Linked DNA regions of Homo sapiens: region 2 is linked to region 1. Evidence: promoter capture Hi-C in human tissues and cell types (Jung and others, 2019). All regions are on one chromosome and are shown on one strand. The core of a region is centred on a gene start or on the middle of the fragment in contact, and the rest is flanking DNA. Distances in the headings are between cores, read along the strand shown.

Evidence for each region. Contacts are between HindIII fragments. The study calls those that stand out against the background at their distance.
Region 2: a contact is called between a fragment that was not itself captured here and the fragment with the promoter of WIPI2 in region 1, in 1 of the 25 tissues and cell types used here (spleen).

What each region holds. Positions count from the first base shown.
Region 1 is chr7:5,188,726-5,195,406 of GRCh38, reverse strand. It overlaps WIPI2 (WD repeat domain, phosphoinositide interacting 2), which reads right to left and starts at 5,174. Exons shown (of 13, transcript NM_015610.4): 1 at 4,914-5,174; 2 at 2,236-2,289. The coding sequence starts at 4,987. RefSeq lists silencers at 4,680-4,729, 4,740-5,389. The HindIII fragment of the contact is 24,553 bases long and covers 1-6,681 here.
Region 2 is chr7:6,469,059-6,475,952 of GRCh38, reverse strand. It overlaps KDELR2 (KDEL endoplasmic reticulum protein retention receptor 2), which reads left to right. Exons shown (of 5, transcript NM_006854.4): 2 at 1,669-1,769; 3 at 6,199-6,357. Among named protein-coding and RNA genes, the nearest start is that of KDELR2, 12 kb to the left of the region's middle. The HindIII fragment of the contact is 6,301 bases long and covers 1-4,707 here.

The DNA of each region.
Region 1 (6,681 bases), core at 3,925-6,424:
TCAAGGGATCCTCCCATCTCAGCCTCCCGAGTAGCTGGGGACCACAGGCGCGTGCCACCACACCCGGCTAATTTTTGTTTTGTGTAGAGTCGAGGTCTCCCTGTGTTGCCCAACCTGGTCTTGAACTCCTGAACTCAAGGGATCCTCCCACCTTGGCCTTGCATAGTGCCAGGATTACAGGCGTGAGCCACTGTGCCTGTCCCCATTAGTGGGCTCTTTCATTGACAAAGGGGAAAACTAGCAAATCACAACCAAAAAAATATGTATTGGCTCAATCCCCCATTTTGCCAGTATCCCCACCTTCAACTGTGCCTGGTGCCCAAACCCAGAGACCCTGCTCTACCCTCCCCAGAGAGTAGGCCTGTCCTTCTCTAGGGAAGGACAGAGTCACTGCTTTTTAAACGCACTTGAACACATCCTCCTCATTTCACGGCCCCACAAGCCCGCCTCTGGAGCCCTGGCCTGCCCATTCCTGAGCCTGGAGGGGATTCTGCAGTTTAAACTAGGTTGGTTCTCTGCTTTCTTCACTAGCAATTTGAGATCCCACTTCCTTTACCACTCGCTAGCTTCCAAACTGGCTAATATCTCCTTTCTCATTCTTTCTATCGTATGAGTTTAAGCCTTTTAAAATATCTTTTTGAGGTCAAGGGTGGTGGCTTGCGTCTGCAATCTGAGCTACCCAGGCGGGAGGATCACTTGAAGCCAGGAGTTTGAGACCAGTTGGGGCAACAAAGTGAAACCCCATCTCTACAAAAATAAAAAATTAAGAAATGTTTAAAATTAGAAAATGTATATTTTTGACATTTTACTGATTAACATTTTATTAGGGTCTGGGGATGGAACCAAAATAAATGCTTATGTTTGATCCATCATTTTTAACTGAAAGTCTCCGTCAATGAATTTAAACTTGAACATTGAACATCAAAGAGACAGTGACTGCCACTCAAAAATGAAGATGTGAGTCAGATTTTTTGCTTATTTTCCTTTTCTCCCCCTTCCCTAATCGTCAGTCCGTAAAGACTCTCCTTCTTCATCATCTTTGCGGAGAAGCCATACTTGATTGCGTGCTTAGGCGGATAGAGCCCGACACTGTAAACCAAAAGCAACCTCAACTGTGGCTGCCAGCCCAGACCTGGGAGGCCCTGGTGCCCTCTCTTTCAGGGCTATGGACAGCCCACCCCCATCCCCGCTCCCCCTCACATCCTCCACCTCCATATCCCTGTGGCCTTTCCAACTCATCAGTATCCCCAAGCAGAGTTCTCTCCTTCTCGGCTTTTTCACCACGATGTTATCACATTCACCCAGAACCCAAGCCAGAAACTGGGCGTCACCTAAGTTCTCCCTTGGCTGCATGATGCACGTCCTGTGGGTCACACAAGTCCTGATGGCGAGACAGTCTCCTTCCCACTGGTCACTGCTGTTGGATGATATCCTCCTAAGTCACCCCCTGCCCTCCTCAAACATATCCTTTGCATAGCAGGCAGAATTACTTAAAACTTTAAGGGTGAAGGATCTTAGAAACCATCTTCAGGCCGGGCACAACGGCTCACACCTGTAATCCCAATGCTCTGGAGGCTGAGGCAGGAAGATCGCATGAGGCCAGGAGTTCAACACCAGCCTGGTCGACATAGCAAGACCCTGTGCCTACAAAAACTAAAAAAAAAATTAGCCAGGTGTGGGGCCTACGCCTGTAGTCCCGGTTTCTCGGGAGGCTGAGGCAGGAGGACCGCTTGAGCCCAGGAACTCAAAGTTGCAGTAAGCTATGATCATTATAACTATGCCACTGCACTTCAAACTGTGCAACAGTGAGACTCCATCTCAAAAACAAAAACCCAAACCCTTGATTTACAGATGAACAAAGAGAGGAGAGCAGTACCTTCCCAGCACAATAAGCATAACCTAGAAGAGACATGGTGGAAGAAAACAACAGGTTTCTCCTGTTGTCTCCACACACTTCATAACATCAATTCTACAAACACAAGACTTGGAAAGTCAAGTCCCTTTCTTCATTCCATCCCTTTTAGACATGGCATTTAAAACAGACATTGCTACATCACTAACTTCCCACAAGCTGTGGTATCCACTGGAAAAATGTAGTCCTTGATATTTCCATTTCAGATTCAAGTGATCCTCTCCCACTTATTAACTGGTTCACTGCAATTTCAAAAAGCCAAAAAAGTCCTCTAACATAAGCCTTCCAAGGTGATACTTTCAGAAACCAGGGTTGGAACTAACCAGACAACAGCGCGACGGCCAAGACCAGCTGCTCTTGATGCCCCTTTCACTTCTCTAGGTAAAAAAACAAAACAAAACAAAAAACAAATGGTAAAAAACAAATAAAACTTATGCACACTTTTAGGATAGGAATCATGAAAAAGTACGACATTGGAAATCATATTACCAGTAAAGAAAGGCAGGACAGTTATAGTTTGGTATGTAACAAATACAAAAAGAATTTAAAAGACAAAAAAAAGGGAAATGACCCTATAACATATATATTCTAGTAAGTGAACTGGCTTCCAAATTTTCTCACTGCATACAGTAAATGTGAGTTCTAGACGGTCATTCTTTCACTTGCTAAAAATTGTGCTCCTCAATAAATTCTGGAGATTAAGAAGGGAGGAAAAGGTATAAGCCATAAAAGCTCTCTCCGGGAACTTCTCTATTTCTTTCAAGTGTAGATTTAAAACAAATTACCGTCATTTTAGCCCAGTCAACTTCTAGTATAATCCTAGCTTACTATTCATTCCAATTTAGGTTTACACTACATCAAGGTCTCTCTGGCAAGTCAAAGTTATGAAATCTCAAAGTAACAGAAATCTCTTGAACTGTAATAACTTCGGGGAGCATGGAGAAGTGGGTAAGTGTGAAAATGTCCAAGTGTGAAAAGGTCCTATTTCAGGCCAGAGTGACACTCTTCTGTGACACAGGGAACATGGCAGTCCAGCTGAAGTAACAGTAAAAGAGAATGCTTTTCTCTATTTGATTTCATTCTGATAGAAATAATTAGTGAAAAACTGAAAGAGTGGCCGACAATGTTTTGGAAACTCTCTAATTTATACAAGGCATAAACCACCCTACTACTACTACCATTTCTTACTGGTCTCAAAATACTGTGGCCTTGGGCTTAAAAACCAAATTAGAATTGGTTTGGGATGTGTCCTTTTCCCTATCTGGATTAACATAGTCTATTCCACTTGAACTGCAACAGGTTGTCCGAATTGTTTGTTGTTCTGGCTTTTGGTCACACAGAACGCTACAGTACTTGGGAGTTTTCATCTTTACACGTTGTTATGCTATTATTTCTAAATTCACTGTCTTCAGAATTCTACTCTGTAAACAGAAAAAAAAACAGCATGGCAGAGCAGAAAGAACATTGGAAGAGAGCTCAGGAGGCGAGATTCCACTCCTGCCCCCGCTCCACTATTAACCAATTCCAAAACCCAGACCAGCTTGGAGCCTTTCGGAAGGATTTCCTCATCTGTAGTTGGATGAGGTGATTTGCCCCTTCCGACTCTCAATACAGTCCCACTGTGCGACTGTCTTCACAGCTTTGGGGAGGTGCTATTGAGTGCCTGCTGTACACCACCCACTGAGTGTTGTCCATTCTACAATTCACTTTTAATTTCCTAAAGAATCTTACCTTCTGCTATGTTAATTCCACTCAGCCAGTAACAACTCAACCAATGACTTAGTAAGATGCCAAATGCCCCACTCCTTCTCTTTCCTCACTTCCTCTTACTCACTTCCAAGATGGCTCTCCTCCCTGCCAACCCCATAACTCACCCTTCTCTCTCCAGAAAGCTCGCTCATCTATTAACCATCCCCACAAGTCCTCCTCCCAGGCAGCATCCAACCCGTATCAGTGGGGACAAACAGCGTTCCGAATGCACGGGCTGGCATTAAGGCCTTCTCTTGCCCTGAGGATGACCCACCCGCTGGAGCTCTGAGACTCCTGGGGCACTGGTCCGTAACGCCTCTCTTGGCTCAGTTTCTCCCTAGCTAGGTCAGATGCCAAGGTTATTGCTAAGTTTGTTACTTGCTGGAGAAGACATCAAAGTTGATGTCCCAAAAAGAACAGGGAGGGCCGCGCACGGTGGCTCACACCTGTAATCCCAGCACTTTGGGAGGCTGAGGTGGGCGGATCACTTGAGGTCAGGAATTTGAGACCAGCCTGACCAACATGGTGAAACCCTGTCTCTACTACAAATACAAAAAAGTTAGCTGGGCACAGTGGCGCGTGCCTGTAGTCTCAGCTACTCGGGAGGCTGAGGCAGGAGAATCGCTTGAACCCAGGAGGCGGAGGTTGCAGTGAGCTGAGATGGCACCACTGCACTCCAGCCTGGGCAACAGAGCAAGACTCTGTCTCAAAACAAAACAAACCCCAAAAAACAAAAACAAACAAAAAAACAGTGAGAAACGAAGAAAAGAAAATCAAGAGAGAGAGAAGGGTCTTAAGACGATGAAAAGACAAGGAGAAGGGCCTGATTCAAAGGAGAGTGAGTGGGAGACGCTGAGCAAGCAGCGGGAAGAGGAGACGAGAGGAGAGGAAGCGACCCACACCCAGCGCTCCACAGGCGGCCAAGACAAGTCAAGCCCCAAAGTTCGGCCCCAACTTTGCGAGAAGTAGTTAAGTCTGAAGCCAGGGGGCCTCCCCGCAAGAGGGTGAAAGCAGCCCCCTCTCCACCACCTCTCCCGCTCCGGGACCGCAGCTCCAGGCCAGCACCCGAGGGTCTCCCTGGAGGGCGCCCCTCCCTGCACGCCCCGGGCCCGCCCCTGGGGACGCCTCTGCGCGCCTTGGCCCGCGGGGAGGCCGAGCCTGCGACGCCGCCGAGCTTGGCAGCGAGGCCCTCCCCCTAGCCCGGGTCCGACCCTGGCCTCACCCCGACTCCGACCCCCGACCCCGGCCTTACGTGTTGTCCTGGTTGAAGTTGGCGAAGAGCAGCTGGCCGGCGCCGGCCTCCCCGCTCTGGCTCGCCAGGTTCATGGCTGGGCGCGCGGCGAGTGGGCCCGGCCGGGGAGGGCGCGCGCGCGAGGGCGGGTCAGGCTGCACTCAGGGTCGGCGCCGGGCCCCGCTCGCCGCCTCGGTCGCCGCCACTCGCCACCCTGGGATCAACCGCCGCCTCATCCCGTCCCCGCTCTTGTTTATGCTCCAGAGCCGGGGCACCCGGTACGCCTGCGCGGCCCCGCCCCCGCGACGCACGGCCTCGAGCGGCGCAGTCGCACTGCGGAGGCCCCGCCCTCTCACCGCCTGCCTGGGCTTGGGTTCCGGTGGATCACGCAGGCGTGGGGACGCGTCGGGGCGCGCTGGGCCTGGCTGAGGGCGAGCGGCGGCCGCTCATGCGCATGGGGCAGAGCTGGCGGGAGTCTGTTTTCTGCGTACCCTCCTCTTAATAACACTCAATGGCCAGGCACGGTGGCCTGTAATCCCAGCATTTTGGGAGGCCAAGGCGGGCGGATCACCTAAGATCAGAAGTTCGAGACCAGCCTGGCCAACATGGTGAAACCCCGTCTCTACTAAAAATACAAGAAAAATTAGCCGGGCTTGGTGGTGTACGCCTGTAATCCCAGCTACTCGGGAGGCTGAGGCAAGATAATCGCTTGAACCCAGGAGGCGGAGATTGCAGTGAGCCGAGATCATGCCACTGCAATCCATCCAGCCTGGGCCATAGAGCGAGACTCTGTCTCAAACAACAACAAAAACAAAAACAAAAACACCCCAATGGGCCCTCCATGTGCCAATCACTGTGCTGAATGCTTCTGCGCATTACCTTATCATTTTATTATTTTGAAAGACAAGGTCTCGCTCTGTTGCCTAGGCTGGAGTGCAGAGGCTCAATCACAGCTCACTGCAGCCTCAAACTCAGGCTCAAGCGATCCTCCCACCTTAGCCTCCCAAGTAGCTGGGACCACAAATGCATGCCACCACACCCTGCTAACTTTTAAGTTTTTTGTAGAGATGGGGTGGGGGCGGGGGGGGTCTTACTCTGTTGCCTAGGCTGGTCTCGCACTCCTGGCCTCAAGTGATGCTCCCACCTCGGCCTCCCAAAGTACTGGGATTACAGATGTGAGCCACTGTGCCCAGCCACATTATCTTATTTGATGCCCATTACAATCCTAAGTAGAGAATAGTATATCTTAATTTTACAGATTTGAAAATCGAGGCTCAGAAATAATTATTAGCCAAGTGCTAGATCTGAGACTGGAAACGTCCTGTTTCTCCAAGGTCCATACTGTCTGGGTTCCTGGGACAGAATCGTCCCTTAAATTTATTCATTCATTCAACAGTATTTAGGACGCACCTCTCATGTGAACTAAATAGGCCTCCTCCTTTCCCTCAGAGAAGTTATAATGGGGAGATATTTAAATATAAATAGAAGGCCAGGTGTGGTGGCTCTTACCTGTAATCCCAGCACTTTGGGAGGCTGAGGCGGGTGGATCACCTGAGGTCGGGAGTTCCAGACCAGCCTGGCTAACATGGTGAAACCCCGTCTCTACTAAAAGTACAAAAGTTAGCTGGGTATGGTGGTGGGCACCTGTAATCTCAGCTACTAGGGAGGCTGAGGTGGGAGAATTGCTTGAGCCCCACAGGTGGAGGTTGCAGTGAGCCGAGATTGCACCTCTGCACTCCAGCCTGGACGGACGACAGAGTGAGACTCCATCTAAAAAGTAAAATAAAAT
Region 2 (6,894 bases), core at 308-2,807, 1.3 Mb before region 1:
GCAACAGAGTGAGACCCAGTCTCAAAAAAAGAAAAGAAAAATAATGTGCTTTTCACGTTCCAGAGGAGTGTTGTGAATGATTTGGGTGAAGTGACTTTTCTGTTAAATTCATACTTACTAAAATGTGTAGTGGTGTGAAGTATGCATTATAGATGAGGGTGGGTGGGTTCTGACATTTAGTCAGCCTTCAGTTTCTTTAATGCATTTGCTCAGTCTCCAGCATCTGAAACCCATAGTTTGCGTCCTTTGTCACATAAATATTTGGCCAAATATAGATGTCAGAAAAGCTGTGTGCACACCACATAAATGTCCAGCCTTCCTGGCTGAGTGTGGCTGTGCCATGCAGTGCTCTGGAGGTGGGTTGGTGGTTGGAAGTGGAAACACAGTTTCAAGGCTTTAAAAAAGACAGCTGCTTTTGAAGACCAGCTGTAGTTGTGGGTTCATACCTTCATGTTGTCCTAGCATTCAGGAACATTTTTATACAAATACAATGGAATTTCTATTTTATTGTAATTAATTTATTTTTTGAGACAGGGTCTTGCTCTGTCACCCAGGCTAGAGTGCAGGGATGTGACCACAGCTCACTCAGCCTCAGCCTCCTGGAGTCACGCAATCCTCCCACCTCAACCTCCCATGTAGCTGGGACCACAGGTGTGTGCCACCTTGCCTGGCTATCACTTTTCTATTTTTCGTAGAGATGGAGTCTGGTCTCAAACTCCTGGGCTCAAGCGATTCTCCCGCCTTAGCCCCCCTATATGTGGAGATTATAGGCATGACCACTATGCCTAACTGAGAGGGAAGCTTTAAAAATCTTAACATATCCAAGTAATTGCCGCTCTTAGCAAAGAAGTCACCATGGGATGCGATGCCATTATTCCAGCGGGAGTTCCTGCCCAACTCTTACCTGAGTCGGTGCTTCTCATCTACTCCTCATCCCCCTTAATGACAGTAGACTCCATCTCCGTTCTCAAAAGATTTCTCACCATGGAGATACTGTTTTACCATACAAAGAAGGGACCAGGCGACATGGCTCATACCTGTAATGCCAACGCTTTGGGAAGCTGGGCCCAGGAGTTCAAGACCAGTGTGGGCAACATGGTGAACAAAAAATTTGTTTAAAAATTAGCTGGGTGTGGTAGTTCACACCTCTAGTCCCACCTACTCTGGAGGCCGAGGTGGGAAGATTGCTGAAGCCCAGGAGGTCAAGGCTACAGTGAGCTTGATCGTGCCTCTGCACTCCAGCCTGGGCAGCAGAGGGAGACCCTGTCTCAGGGGAAAACAAAAAAGAAAAATCTGAATGTAAGAGACAAGTTATAACACTAAATGACAGCAGAATTATTGAGAAATTTGTTCCTACTTAAGGTGATATATTTGAGAAGTAAAAGGTTCGTTTGAATGATACACATCCTGGCATAATAAAGCCCCTTTCCTGTGGTCGCCCTTTATAGTGAGACAGAAAAGCCTGTTAGAGCCTCCCAAAAGGAGCATGTTTGGGAATGGGAAGGGATAGAAAAACTACAACTGCTCTTGTTCATTCAGAGCCATCCCTAGACCTGGGCCTTGACCCCACGCACCCCTCCTTCCCTGTCTGCACTCCCTGCACAGTGTGATCCACAGGAATCCCAAAGCTCTTCAGGCCCTTCTAATACTTCCCTTCTGTTTCTCTAGGTATTTCTGGGAAAAGCCAGCTTCTGTTTGCACTGGTCTTCACAACTCGTTACCTGGATCTTTTTACTTCATTTATTTCATTGTATAACACATCTATGAAGGTATGGTATGCCATCCACAGGAATGTATTTCATCTACAGTGCACAGGTCTATGGACACTTAATTTATGTCAGCTGTGTATTTTTAATTAAAATGCTCCAAAAATAATGTCTTAATATGCTGTTCTTGACTTTAAAACTTTCAGACCACCTTGTATATATAACTGGGACTAAACGAGCTATCAGTAAGCATACATTTTTGGTTTCAAAACAGTAGTTAATTAAAATACTTTGAAGTTAGAACTTTTTTATTTTAGGTTCCTTAAGTATGATAAATCTAAAGCTCTTGATAACTCTGTAAGTAAGAGCGGTAACTATTATATTTTCAAGCCGTGGGAAATTACAGAGTCCCCAGAGAAATCCAGCAAGTTGGTACATAACAAGGAACGAAAGCAGGACTCCTAGTTGCAGTGTCTCATTTCGCTGCTGTGTGAGGAACTGTCTATAGGCTTCTATCTTTTTTCTTTGCCACTGAGTCAGTTTTACTTAAACTGTTGTGTGTGTGTCATTTTTATTACATTTGCCGTGCTTAAATGATCTCTATACCATCATTTACTTAGTAACGTATTTTTTTAAACCTTTCAACTTGTCCTAATTATTAGTATCTATAACACCTTTGTTGTCTTTCTTATATTTTTTCTAATTCACATTAAAACTAGTGTATAACTATTAAAATACAAAATGTTTGCACACCACCTAACACTTTGTGTAGCACTGGTGGCACACACCCCACACTGGGGGAAGTTGTGGACTACGTGAGCTTCAGTTCTTTCGCACAGTGTTGAATTCATGCTTGTGAACACCTACAGAGCTGGGAACTGAGGATGCGGCAGAAAATAAGCAGAAGTCTCTAGGCTGGTGTGGGAGAGTACACAGATCATGGCAGTACAAATGACTGCGATTTATGATGGGTGCCACAAAGGAAAAGTATAAGAGTTGCGAACCTATGGATATAAAAAACATGAAACAGGCCCAGTAGCTCCCGCCTGTAATCCCAGCACTTTGGGAGGCCAAGGTGGGTGGATTGCTTGAGCCAAGGAATCCGAGACCAGCCTGAGCAACATAGTTAGACCCCTGTCTCTAAAAAAAAAAAAAAAAAAAAAATACAAAAATTAGCCAGGCATGGTGGCATACTCCTGTAGTCCCAACTACTCAGGAGGGTAAGGTGGTAGGATCGCTTGAGCCCTGGAGGTTGAAGCTGCAGTGAGCCGTAATTGCACCACTGCCCTCCAGCCTGGCAGCCTGGGTGACAGAGCAGGATCCTGTCTGAAAAAAAAAAAAAAAAAAAAGAACAGGGGCTCTCAGGATATGTAATAGGAGTCTGATTTCTTTCTTTCTTTCCTTCTTTCTACAAATACTGAGCACCTGTGCACCAGGCACTATTCTAGGCCATTTGGTTATTAGCATACCCAAGGAAGTAATATTTCAACTGAATCCTATTGGTATGGCACCTAAACAACCTCCCCCCAACATTTTGTGTTCAAGAGCATTTTCATAAGCACTGTTGAAAGGAGACAAAGCAGTATGTGAGTCTGGTCTTTACTAAAAAGCAAATTTGAGTCACTTATAATGGATTCTTCATTACCAAATGATGGGAACCTAGTATTCAGGAAATAATGAGCTTACTTAAAAATGGTTAGGTCCCCACTTGTCTAGGCAAGTTAAAACTGCAGGCATTAGAGGTGTGTGAGCAAGAATCCTCTCTCCCCCTCAGGATGCCCAGGTTTCAGAGGAATCCATGCTTGCTTGGTTGTAGTTTCTAAGCACGATGTCCTGAAAGTCTGGCGTGAGACCCGAGGTGCTCGTGTCTTTTTACTTTAACTTCTGTGTGCTGGTGAGAGGAGAGAAGCAGCTGTTCTTCTCCAGGTGCTGCTAAGGCCTTAGTGGAAATAACGCCCATCAAGTTTTTATTAATGTTGAGCTGGCCACAGTCTAGGTCCTGGTGAGAGGCCTCTCTGCTGTGAGCCTTGGCTAGATGCGCTGAGGGGGCTCAGTGCATGTGTAGATGGATGTGTGTCTTGTTTATGCATGTAGATTTTGTTTTGTATTTATTCACATACATGGTGAGGAGATCGAGACCATCCTGGCCAACATGGTGAAACCCCATCTCTACTAAAAATTAGCTGGGTGTGGCGGCATGCGCCTGTAATCTCAGCTACTGGGGAGGCTGAGGCAGGAGAATTGCTTGAACCCGGGAAGCGGAGGTTGCAGTGAGCCGAGATTGCTCCACTGCACTCCAGCCTGGTGACAGAGCAAGGCTCCGTTTCAAAAAAAAAAAAAAAGTTAAACTTACACTTAACATATGACCCAGCAGTCCCACCCCTAAGTACATACCCAAGAGAAGTGAAAACTTACATTCACACAAACACTTGTACGCAAATGTTCACAGCAGCTTTATCCACTGTCCTCCCAAATTAGAAACCACCTGTCCTTCAACTGGTGAGTGAATAAACAAACTGGTGCATCCATACAATGGACCACCAATGGACGCAGCTATAAAAAGGAACAAATTATTAACACTAGGCCCTCACTTAATGTCATTGGTAGGTTCTTGAAGTGAAACAACACACACTGCAACTTGAAGTGAAACAACATACACTGAAGCCAGTTTTACCATAGGCTAATTGACATGAGTAAGAGTTAAGTTCCTACAGCATATTTCCGGTCCCCAAAACACCACCAGACTTTTAAATAAAGACCCAAAACAGGCCGGGTGCTGTGGCTCACGCCTGTAATCCCAGCACTTTGGGAAGCCGAGGCAGGCAGATCACCTGAGGTCAAGAGTTCGAGACCAGCCTGACCAACATGGAAACCCCGTCTCTACTACAAATATAAAAATTAGCTGGGCATGGTGGCAGGCGCTTGTAATCCCAGCTACTTGGGAGGTTGAGGCAGGAGAATCGCTTGAACCTGGGAGGCGGAGGTTGCAGTGAGCCGAGATTGTGCCACTGCACTCCAGCCTGGGCGACAGAGCGAGACTCCATCTCAAAAAAAAAAAAAAAAAAAAAAACCGAAACAAATGTGAGCTATACATTTATTTATTTATTTATTTATTTATTTTTTATTTTTTTTGAGACAGAGTCAGTCTGTCACCCAGGCTGGAGTGCAGTGGCGAGATCTCGGCACACTGCAAGCTCCGCCTCCTGGGTTCACACCATTCTCCTGCCTCAGCCTCCTGAGTAGCTGGAACTATAGGCACCCGCCACCACGCCCGGCTAATTTTTTGTATTTTTTTTAGTAGAGATAGGGTTTCACCATGTTAGCCAGGATGGTCTCGATCTCCTGACCTCATGATCCGCCTGCCTCGGCCTCCCAGAGTGCTAGGATTACAGGCGTGAGCCACCATGCCCAGCCAACATGAGCTATACATTTAAGAAAGATTAATAAAAGCAACATAATTATTTATCCAGTTTTTGGTGAATCCGTGCATGATGGTGGTCATAGTGGTGGCGGATTAAATCAAGAAGTATATGTTTACAAACAAAAATTATAAGGAGTACCTCCTACTACCATAAAGTTCAAAAACAAACAATAACAAATATAGCAGGCTCACTGAGTGCTTTTGTACTACATTGTTTATTGTGGTACATATGTATAATTATTGTATACTACTTTATGAATTATTTTACCATAGTTTGTATTCATTTTCCAACCCACTTACTTCATTTCAGGGTCCCAGGTGGCCAGAGCCTATCCCAGCAGCTCAGGTTCAAGGCGCGAACTTTCCCCCAACTGCATAGGATGCCATTCCATCACAGGGCGCGCTCACCCACACCCACTCACACTAGGACAGTTCACACATGCCAGTTCACCTAACTGGCATCGTTGAGATGTAAGAGGAAACCAGAGTATCTCTGGTGGGAGATTCTCCAAGAGTATCTCTTGGAGAAGACCCACGTGGACTCGGGGAGAGCATGCAAACGCCATGGATGGCGGCCCCAGCCGGGAACCAGTTTCTTTTCTCATCAGTGTTACAACCAAAGGATGTTATTGGCAGACCTGCTATACACACAATAAGTTTGGTTGCCTCTCAGATGCATTAGGCTAACTGAAATTGGACCCAGAAGGCAACATACTATGTGACTCCATTTATGTGGCTTTCTAGAAAAGGCAAAACTATGGACAGAGAACATAAGTGTGATTGCACTGCAGGAGGTGAAGGAAGCCTGGGGGAGTTTGACTGCGAAGCGGCAGCATGGCAGAATTTTGGGGATGATGGAACTATTCTGTGTCCTAATTTTGGTGGTGGTTATGCCTCAGAACTGAACACCTCCAAAAAAGAGAATTTTACTATATTTAAGTTTTAAAATTCCAAAAACAAAGCTAAGGAAAAAAATCTTGCCTTTCCAAATACATGGGTGATTAAAAAAGCTGGGGGGTGCTGGAACAGTGGCAAGGTATTGACACCTGGTGTTTTTTCTTTTATTTGTAGGTTATCTACCTTGCCTGCTCCTATGCCACAGTGTACCTGATCTACCTGAAATTTAAGGCAACCTACGATGGAAATCATGATACCTTCCGAGTGGAGTTTCTGGTGGTCCCTGTGGGAGGCCTCTCATTTTTAGTTAATCACGATTTCTCTCCTCTTGAGGTTAGTTTAAAAGGTTACTTAGGGCCAGGCATGGTGGCTCATGCCTGTAATCCCAGCATTTTGGGAGGCCGAGGCGGAGTTCAGCCTCCACTTTGGGTGGATCATGAGGTCAGGAGTTCGAGACCAGCCTGGCCAACATGGTGCAACACCGTCTCTACTAAAAATACAAAAAATTAGCTGGGTGTGGTGGCACGCACCTGTAATCTCAGTTACTCAGAAGGCTGAGGCAGGAGAATCACTTGAACCCAGGAGGCGGAGGCTGCAGTGAGCCGAGATCACGCCATTGTACTCCAGCCTGGGTGACAGAGCAAGACTGTCTCGAGGGAAAAGAAAAAAGAGGTTATGGCTGGGCGTAGTGGCTCACGCCTGTAATTCCAGCACTTTGGGAGGCCAAGGTGGGCACATCACGAGGTCAGGAGATCGAGACTATACTGGCTAACATGGTGAAACCCCGTCTGTACTAAAAAATAAAAAAAATTAGCTGGGCATGGTGGCGGGCACCTGTAGTCCCAGCTACTGGGGAGGCTGAGGCAGGAG